Regions from separate parts of the Homo sapiens genome. Here all the other regions are linked to region 1. The links are contacts of gene promoters, found by promoter capture Hi-C in blood cells and fetal thymus (Javierre and others, 2016). All regions are on one chromosome and are shown on one strand. The core of a region is centred on a gene start or on the middle of the fragment in contact, and the rest is flanking DNA. Distances in the headings are between cores, read along the strand shown.

Region 1 (3,150 bases), core at 651-3,150:
CAGGCTGCCTAGTGGATGACGATGATGAAGAGACTGTGTTTCGCACCTGCCAAAGGGGGACCTTAATGTCATAGCCTTATTTCAGTAGCCTCTTTGGGACCTGTTCTCTGCGTGGCAGAGAGAGGGATCCTTTAATAACCGCCACCAGGTCCCATCCCTCCTCTTCCCACGGCTCTCCAGGATTCCCACCTCACTCAGAGCAAAAGCCCAAGTCCAGGGCCAGGCGCAGTGGCTCACACCTGTAATCCCTGCACTCTGGGAGGTGGAGGCGGGAGGATCACCTGATGTCAGGATTTCAAGACCAGTCTGGCCAATATGGTGAAACCTGTCTCTACTAAATATACAAAAATTAGCCAGGCGTGGTGATGCGCACCTGTAATCCCAGCTACTCAGGAGGCAGAGGCAGGAGAATCACTTGAATCCGGGTGGCAGAGGCTGCAGTCAGCCAACATCACATCACTGCACTCCAGCCTGGGCAACAGAGTGAGACTCCATCTCAAAAACAAACAAACAGCTGATCACGGTGGCTCACGCCTGTAATCCCAGCACTTTGGGAGGCCGAGGCGGGCAGATCATCTGAGGTCGGGAGTTCAAGACCAGCCTGACCAACATGGAGAAACCCCGTCTCTACTAAAACTCCAAAATTAGCGGGGCGTGGTGGCACGTGCCTGTAATCCAGCTACTCGGGAGGCTGAGGCAGGAATCACTTGAACCCAGGATGCGGTGAGCTGAGATTGTGCCATTGTACTCCAGCCTGGGCAACAAGAGCGAAACTCCATCTCAAAAAACAAACCAACCAACCACCAGGTCCCGTCCCTCCTCCTCCCACAGCCTTCCAGGGCTCCTACCTCACTCAGAGCAAAATCCCAAGTCCTCCCCAAGACCCACAAGTCCTTGCTGGACTGGCCTGCTTCACCAGCTACAGAGTTAGCAGGGCCCAGTGCAAAAGAAAACTCAAAGGCCCCTTGTTCAAAAATGATTAGAAATCTCAAAATGCAGCAGTAAATATTAACCCAAGCACAAGCCCTGCTGTGGGGTGGGGGGGCCCTGGACAAAAGCACGAAGCCCCCGGCCCTGCCTCCCTCCGGCCTTCCTGACCTCCCCCCGGGCACTCTGCTGCCAGGCACAGTCCTGCCCCAGGGCCTTTGCACCTGTTGGTCCTGCCTCTGACTACCTCTGTACCCCATCCCCCTGTTCTCCCTCCTTCTTCAGGTCGCTTTAGGGGTGGAGGAAGCCGTCTCTGATCCTCCCTCCCACCTCTTTAACTTTGCACCTTCCTACCCTGCCATTCTCCCGGCTGGTTTTTCTGCAGAACTGTCCCCACCATCTGACCTGCCAGGAATTCAGCTTGTGAATTTGTCTCTGTCTGTCTCCAGGCACCACCACCAGGGCAGGGACCCACCCCCGCCCCGCCCCACCCCAGGGCCCTGGAGCAGCGGGGCCTGGCACACAGTAGGCGTTCTATAAATGTGTCACAAGAATGGCTTCCCTCAGGAAGGCGGCATTACCGCTGCCTTTCTGCAGAAAAGGAAACTAAGGCTCAGCAAGAACCACCGCCCAGCCAGAGCCAAGGTCACAGAGCACGTCCGTGGCACGCGTCCAGGTCGTGCCACAGCAGGGCCGGCGGCTTCGACGCGGGCAGCCGGGTCCCTTTTCTTTGACAGATGGGGAAACCGAGGCCCGGCCGGCTGCCGGGTAGGAGAGGGTGGCGGGGGCCGCTGCCCGGGGCGGGGGCGGGCCGGGCCCAAGGTCACCGCGGCGGGCGGGCCACGGGGAGGCGGGCCGGCGTGGGGATCCGCAGGCCTCCCCGGGCGCGCGCGTCCCCCCCCTCGGCGGCGCGCACGGGGCACGGGCGGCGGCAGGTGGAGCCGAAGCCTCCGCAGCAGCCGAGCCGCGGCCACTGCCGGCGTCGCCGCCATTAGACAATAGCGGTGGGGCCGGGGAGCGGGGAGGCGGGCGGCGGGGAGGGGCGGGGAGGGGCGCCGGGCGCGCAGGAAGCGGGGCCCGGGGCGCGCCGGGGCCGGGCGCGCGGGGAGGGGGCGCAGGAAGCGGGCGAGGCCGGGCGCGGGAGGCGGCGGCGGCCCCGGGAGCTGCCGATCGGCGCCGGGACAAAGGCGCGGCCGCCCGGCGCCCCCAGCAGCCCGAGCCGGGGCGCACAGCCGGGGCGCAGCCCGCGCCCCCCGCCGCGATTGACATGATGTTTCCACAAAGCAGGCATTCGGTAAGCGGGGCCCGTCCGGCCGGCGCCCCCACCCCGGATCCGGGCCCTACGCCCCCGACCCCCGGCTCCCGGCCCCGCGCCCCCCAACCCCCAGGCCCGGTGCCTCCGGCCCGGCGCCCCCCCCAACTCCCCGGCCCTGTCTTCCCTCTCCAGCTCCCAGCCCGGCGCGACCCCCCTCCCCTCCTGCCGCCGGCCCCCGGACACCCCCCCTCCAGTTCCCGATCCACCCCAGCTTCCGGGCCCCGAGCCCCCCCGCCGCAGCTCCCGGCTTGGCGCCCCCCCCCCCCAACCCGCCGGGACAGTCAGGGCCTCGGACGGCCTTGGCCTCGGGCCTGGGGCGCTCCGGAAGCCCCGCGAGGCACCTCTAGCCCGGGGATCCTTTGGGGGCCTGTGGTGGGGGGGGTGATCCGAGGCGCACCCCTCCCGGAAGAGCGTGTCCCCGAGGAAGGGCGCTGGGAATCTGGGGTTGGGCCCCCCCGGAAGATTTCGAGCACCGAGAGAGAGACCCCTCCCCCAAGAGGACTTTGCAGGGAGGAATCGCTGCCCCCCAACTTGGGGAGGGGGCTCCCTAGGGCGCGTTTCTACCCCCCTCGGATGTGCACTCCCTCCCGGCGCTTTGGAGGGCGGTAGAGGGCGCACCCTGCCCCCCATCTAGGGCGGGCCTTAAAACGCACCCCCACTGCCTGGGGGTGGCGGGGGACGGGGCGGCTCCGGGCGCACCCACCCGCTCGGCTTCCCCCGGGAGAGGCGGGGGGCAGGAAGCGCGGGTGGGGTCGCGCCAGGGGCCGTAAACACGGGCCCAGGAAGTGGGGCAGGAGGGGGGGCGCCGCAGCTGCGCGGCCGCTCCCTCCTAGCCGGCCCTTGAGGGGGGTCCAGCCCACGCCTGGGCCTGACCCGGGCCGCCCCATCCCTACAGGGCTCCTCGCACC
Region 2 (3,150 bases), core at 1-2,500, 110 kb before region 1:
GGGAAACTGAGGCCCAGAGAGCCCGAGGCGTTGCAGAAGGGGAAACTGAGGCCCAGAGAGCCCGATGCGTTGCAGAAGGGGAAACTGAGGCCCAGAGAGCCCGAGGCGTTGCAGAAGGGGAAACTGAGGCCCAGAGAGCCCGATGCGTTGCAGAAGGGGAAACTGAGGCCCAGAGAGCCCGATGCGTTGCAGAAGGGGAAACTGAGGCCCAGAGAGCCCGATGCGTTGCAGAAGGGGAAACTGAGGCCCAGAGAGCCTGATGCGTTACAGAAGGGAAAACTGAGGCCCACAAAGGCGGCCTGAGGCCAACTTTCTGCCCATGGGAGGACACACAGGTCCAGGGAGAGAGACCCCCAGGGACAAGCTGGTAGGGTCTCGGGGCCAGGCGCCCATTTTGGGATTCATGGTTGCCTCTCCTGCCCCTGAGCTCACCCTGCTGGGAGCAGAGCTGCTGGCCCCCTGGGGCAGCCCCCCACTGGGATTGAGGTGCATAGGAAAAGTAGGGACTTGCTCACCCCATCCCCATGGCCCTGCTGACAACGGCTCACGGTGACTCAGCCTGAGGTGAGGTGGCTGTGGGTCTAAGTGGGAGACACACCCTGCTCTGGCGTCTGAGGAGGGAGGCAGGCTCTGCCCTGGCGTCTGAGGGGGAAGCTTGGACCTGCCTGGGGTCTGAGGGGGGAGGGTTGGCCTTGCCCTAGGTTCTGAGAGGGGAGGCATGACCTTACCCTGGGGTCTGAGCGGAGAGGCTCAGCCTTGTCCTGGGGTCTGAGGAGGGATGCGAGGCCCTGTGCTGTGGTCTGAGAGGGGAGACACACCCTGCCCTGGGTCTGAGGAGGGAGGTATGCCCTGCCCTGAGGTTTGAGCGGGGAGGCTTGAACCTGCCTGGGGTCTAGGGGTGAGGGTTGGCCTTGCCTTGGGGTCTGAGTGGGGAGGCATGGCCCTGTCCTGAGTCTGAGGGGGGAGGCGAGGCCCTGCCTTGGGGTCTGAGGGGAGAGGTGAGGCCCTGTCCTGGGGTCCAAGGGAGGAGGCGAGGCCCTACCCTGAGGTCTGAGTGGGGATGCTCAGCCTTGCCCTGGGGTCTGAGGAGGGAGGCTCAGCCTTGCCCTGGGGTCTGGGGCATGTAGGGGCTTGGACATCATCTGTCACGGATGGAGTGTGAGGTCTCTGCTCTCCAGCTCCCCCAGTGTCTGTGACCCCCCACTCGTCCCCATCCAGAAGGCCTTGGGGTGTGGGGTGATTTGGGAAATAATGCAGGCCCCAGAAGTGTGAGTAGGACCCAGGATAAGTCCCTGCTGGGAGCCTCCTCCCGCCTGCAATCACCCCCAGGCCAGGCCCACTTACCACCAAGGAGGGTCCTGAGGGGCCCCACCTGCCCTCTGTCCCCCCAGGAGCCTGTGGTCTTCAGCCTTCCTGAGACAATGGTGTCCTTGGCCTCAGGGTGGGGGCAGCTACACTAATTCTACCAGTAAGGTGTCCTGGAAGGGTCACAAGTGTACTGCGAGGACACAGGTGTCCCATGAGGGGCACAGATGTCCCGTGAGGGCTCAGGTGTTGAAGGCCGAAAGAATGAGGGTTGTGATCAACTCAGTATACCACTGGAGGCTACGTGAGTAAACAGCAAACTGTTCTCATGAAAGCAGGCTGTTGGCAAACTGACAAACTGCGTCTGCCGCCCAGAAGGAATGCTGAGGGCAGTCACGCCCCAGGCACAAGTGTTTCTTGCAAGTAGGCAAATCTGAAACCTGTTAGCAATAACGTGAACGTGTGAACAATCAAGCAGCTGGCCAATCGTTTCCTCCCCCTGCTTTCTACCCAATAAGTACGAAGGGCTGTAGAAGCTTGGGGGGCTGCCTTTGCTCACTAGAAGCAGGGAGCTCTCTTTTTCTTCCCCTGGTCCCTTCCTTTAAAACAGTTTCTTCTGTCTTAAGTTTTCATTTCTACATTCGTCCCTTCGTTCAGTCTTGTAATGATGGTCTCAAGTAGTAACAATAGTAACTGTCGTAGTGACAGTCTCAGGTAGTAATCATGGCAACCACACACAGGCGTCCCATGAAGGGTACAGGCATCCCATGAGGGCACAGGTGTCCCATGAGAATGCAGGCGTCCCATGAGGGGCACAGGCATCCCATGAGAACACAGGCATCCCATGAGGGGCACAGGCGTCCCATGAGGGTACAGGCATCCCATGAGGGCACAGGTGTCCCATGAGAATGCAGGCGTCCCATGAGGGCACAGGCATCCCATGAGGGGCACAGGCATCCCATGAGAGCACAGATGTCCCATGAGGGGTACAGGCGTCCCATGAGGGTACAGGCATCCCATGAGAACACAGGCGTCCCATGAGGGGTACAGGCATCCCATGAGGGCACAGGCATCCCATGAGAACACAGGTGTCCCATGAGAACACAGGTGTCCCATGAGGGCACAGGCGTCCCATGAGAATGCAGGCGTCCCATGAGAACGCAGGCGTCCCATGAGGGCACAGGCGTCCCATGAGGGCACAGGTGTCCCATGAGGGGCACAGGCGTCCCATGAGAACACAGGCGTCCCATGAGGGGCACAGGCGTCCCATGAGAACACAGGCGTCCCATGAGGGCACAGGCGTCCCGTGAGAACACAGGTGTCCCATGAGGGGCACAGGCGTCCCATGAGAACACAGGCGTCCCATGAGGGCACAGGCGTCCCATGAGAACACAGGTGTCCCATGAGGGGCACAGGCGTCCCATGAGAACACAGGCGTCCCATGAGGGCACAGGCGTCCCATGAGAACACAGGTGTCCCATGAGGGGCACAGGCGTCCCATGAGAACACAGGCGTCCCATGAGGGCACAGGCGTCCCATGAGGGGCACAGGCGTCCCATGAGAACACAGGCGTCCCATGAGGGCACAGGCGTCCCATGAGGGCACAGGTGTCCCATGAGGGGCACAGGCGTCCCATGAGAACACAGGCGTCCCATGAGGGGCACAGGCGTCCCATGAGAACACAGGCGTCCCATGAGGGCACAGGCGTCCCATGAGAACACAGGCGTCCCATGAGGGGCACAGGCGTCCCATGAGAACACAGGCGTCCCATGAGAACACAGGCGTCCCATGAGGGCACAGGCGTCCCATGAGGGCACAGGCGTCCCATGAGAACACAGGCGTCCC
Region 3 (3,150 bases), core at 388-2,887, 110 kb after region 1:
CGCGCCCCAGGGAGGAGGCTCCGGAGGCCAGTGGAACCCCGCTAGACTTCAGGGGTCTTGGTTGGGGACGCGGGGCGTTTTGACCCCCTAGGCCTGAGGATCCTAGGCCTGAGTAACCCATCGGATTTGGAGGGAAGGGTGGGGTTTAGGTGAAATGTAAATACTGCGTGGTTTCCATTTGGCAAAGAGCAAGCTTGTAAAGGGGTCACCCTCGGGTCTGGGCTGCGAAGTGCAGCCGGGACCTGTTTCCTTGGGAACCACAAGATAAGACCGCTGTAGATTGTTATGTCCGGAAACCGCTTATCAGAGCCCTGCACCTGGGTTGGAAATGGAGACGGATTCTCTGTGTCCAAGAAAATCAGACCCTCCGGCCGGAAAAGGGAAGTTTATTCTTACTGATAAAATGTCAATCACTGTGTATGATTGTAATGGGCAAGGAAGGCATTTAGCGAGCTAGAAGACATTGATGGCTCAGAAAAAGGTGTCCTTGGCAAAAATACTGTTTTCTGTTAATTTTCCAACTGATACCATCTGGGTCTGTCCTCCCAGCCTGATGAATGTGTAGGCAGATACTTTCTCAGTCGGAGTTGATTTTTATTATCTTGATTGCTGCATCCTGTGCACAGAGGTTTTCTGCTCAGCTGGGCTTCATCCTGGGGTCCCAGTCCTGGCCCCAAGCCTTAATCAGCTCTCGGGTGATATTAGGCAAGTTGCCAAGCCCCTAAGTGCCTCAGTTTCCAGGTCTGTAAAATACATAACATTACCTGCATTTGTCAAATAGTGCTGTGTGTGGATTATTATTGGCAGCTCATCATCACCATTATCACCCTCCTGTAAACGTCTTGGACCCCTTAAGTGAAGACAGCAGGGTTACGGCGGATAAAATGATGGACTTCAGAGAAAAGACTCTAAGACCAAATAGAGTCTAAAGCAGTGATTATCAAAGAGGGGAGGAGAAATTTTACGCCCAGGGGACACTGGACAATGTCTGCAGACTTGGTTGTCACAACCGGGGATGGGGTTGGGGCGACTGGCATCCAGTGGATGAGGAGGTCTAGGGTGCTGCTCAACACCCTGCAATGAATAGCACGCCAGTCTTTTGGATTTGAGCCCACCTTAATCTCATTTTAATCGAATTGCCTCTTTAAAGGCCTATCTTCAAATACCTTCTGAGGTACTGTGGGTTAGGCCTTCACCTTACGGATTTGTGGGGACGCAATTCACCCGTTAACGCTATACATACACAAAAATTCATAGACTACACCTCAAAAGAAAAATTCAACATGACCATATAATACTATAAAATAAAAGAAGATGCAATACCTGGTTTGGGGTTGGATCTTCGGAGGACCAGCTGTAAAGACCATTTGGGGTATAATTGAAGGAAATACGATTATGGGCTAGGTATAAAGGAATGATTGTTAACTATCTAAAGTGCGAATATGAAGTGTGGACTTTTAGATAAAAATACAGATTTTTCTCTAAAATAGCATTTGGGAGGTGTTTAAGAGCAGAGTGTTACAGTGTCCTCAATTTACTTTTTTTTTTTTTTTTGAGACGGAGTCTCGAGCTGTCGCCCAGGCTGGAGTGCAGTGGTGTGATCTCGGCTCACTGCAGCCTCCACCTCCCGGGTTCAAGTGATTCTCCTGCCTCACCCTCCCGAGTAGCTGGGACTACAGGTGCCCGCCACCACACCCAGCTAATTTTTGTATTTTTAGTAGAGATGGGGTTTCACCATCTTGGCCAGGCTACTCTTGAACTCCTGACCTCGTGACCCGCCTGCCTCGGCCTCCCAAAGTGCTGGGATTACAGGCGTAAGCCACTGCCCCCAGCCACTCAATTGACTTTGAAATAATTCTTTTTTTTTTTTTTTTTTTGAGACAGAGTTTTGCTCTGTTGCCCAGGATAGAGTACAATGGCGTGATCTCAGCTCAACGCAAGCTCCGCCTCCTGGGTTCACGCCATTCTCCTGCCTCAGCCTTCCGAGTAGCTGGGACTACAGGCACTCGCCACCACGCCCAGCTGATTTTTTGTATTTTTAGTAGAGACGGGGTTTCACCATGTTAGCCAGGATGGTCTTGATCTCCTGACCTTGTGATCCGCCCAACTCGGCCTCCCAAAGTGCTGGGATTACAGACGTGAGCCACCGCACCCTGCGACTTTGAAATAATTCTATGTAGATATTGGCTGTCAGTCGGCTAGAACAATTGATCAGGAAACATCTCTGTCTTCACAAATTACCTGATATGTTGAGTAATGTGAGTATAACACGAATTTCATATTTGTTTATGTTCAGTTTCAACCCTAAGAAACACTAAGTGAACAGAAGAAATTGCACATAACTGAAGAGTCTGGTAGGAAAACAGAAAATGCGCGCACACACCTCAAATACCAAGTCACACTGTTTCCTCTGCTTTAAAACTTAACATTAGATTTCCGACAACCCTCTCTCCACCACTGCATACTAACTCTGGAAATTTAGATTCCCTTGCCCAATTCCACAAGCAACCTTTGGATCTTCTGCAAGGTACGTTGCTACATTTATTATAGTATTTATGTGTTTCTTTTCCTTTTTTTTTTTTTTTTTTTGAGACAGAGTTTTGATCTTGTTGCCCAGGCTGGAGTGCAGTGGCATGATCTCGGCTCACTGCAACCTCCACCTCCTGGGTTCAAGTGATTCTCCTGCCTCAGCCTCCCGATTAGCGGGGGTTCCAGGCATTTGCCACCATGTCCAGCTCATTTTTGTATTTTTAGTAGAGATGGGGTTTCTCCATGTTTGTCAGGGTGGTCTCGGACTTTGGACCTCAGGTGATCTGCCCACCTTGGCATCCCAAAGTGCTGGGATTACAGGCGTGAGCCACCGCGCCCGGCCTATTTATGTGTTTCTTAATGATGTAAGGTGAAAAGCTGTGCTACTGTTTACTTCTTCAGGGACTCTGATAATAGGCATGTTTTTCTTTCCTGTCTTTTGTTCCCACTGCTTCCTCTCTGACAGTTATTCCACTGTTTCCTATCACTTCCAATTTCTTTGTAGTTTCCTTGCCTCTTATCTTTGACACAATGTGAGTATCCTAAGCTTCATTAATATCCATTGATGAAGGCTGAGGCAAGCGGATCACTTGAGGTCAGGAGTTCCAGACCAACTTGGCC

Evidence for each region. The method cuts DNA at HindIII sites, captures the fragments that hold promoters and counts their contacts. A CHiCAGO score of 5 or more calls a contact.
Region 2: a fragment that was not itself captured here is called in contact with the fragment with the promoter of TLE5 in region 1 in 6 of 17 cell types (endothelial precursors, naive CD4 T cells, naive CD8 T cells and 3 more); the score reaches 6.3 in endothelial precursors.
Region 3: a contact is called between a fragment that was not itself captured here and the fragment with the promoter of TLE5 in region 1, in 3 of 17 cell types (naive CD8 T cells, total B cells and naive B cells). The highest score is 5.5, in naive CD8 T cells.

The regions. Positions count from the first base shown.
Region 1 is chr19:3,061,245-3,064,394 of GRCh38, reverse strand. It overlaps TLE5 (TLE family member 5, transcriptional modulator), which reads left to right and starts at 1,900. Exons shown (of 7, transcript NM_001130.6): 1 at 1,900-2,221; 2 at 3,138-3,150. The coding sequence starts at 2,195. RefSeq lists silencers at 1,685-1,894, 2,817-3,086. The HindIII fragment of the contact is 8,766 bases long and covers 1-3,150 here.
Region 2 is chr19:3,174,772-3,177,921 of GRCh38, reverse strand. No RefSeq gene overlaps it. Among named protein-coding and RNA genes, the nearest start is that of S1PR4, 2.4 kb to the left of the region's middle. RefSeq lists an enhancer at 289-1,171. The HindIII fragment of the contact is 1,187 bases long and covers 657-1,843 here.
Region 3 is chr19:2,947,289-2,950,438 of GRCh38, reverse strand. No RefSeq gene overlaps it. Among named protein-coding and RNA genes, the nearest start is that of ZNF77, 3.9 kb to the right of the region's middle. The HindIII fragment of the contact is 2,883 bases long and covers 196-3,078 here.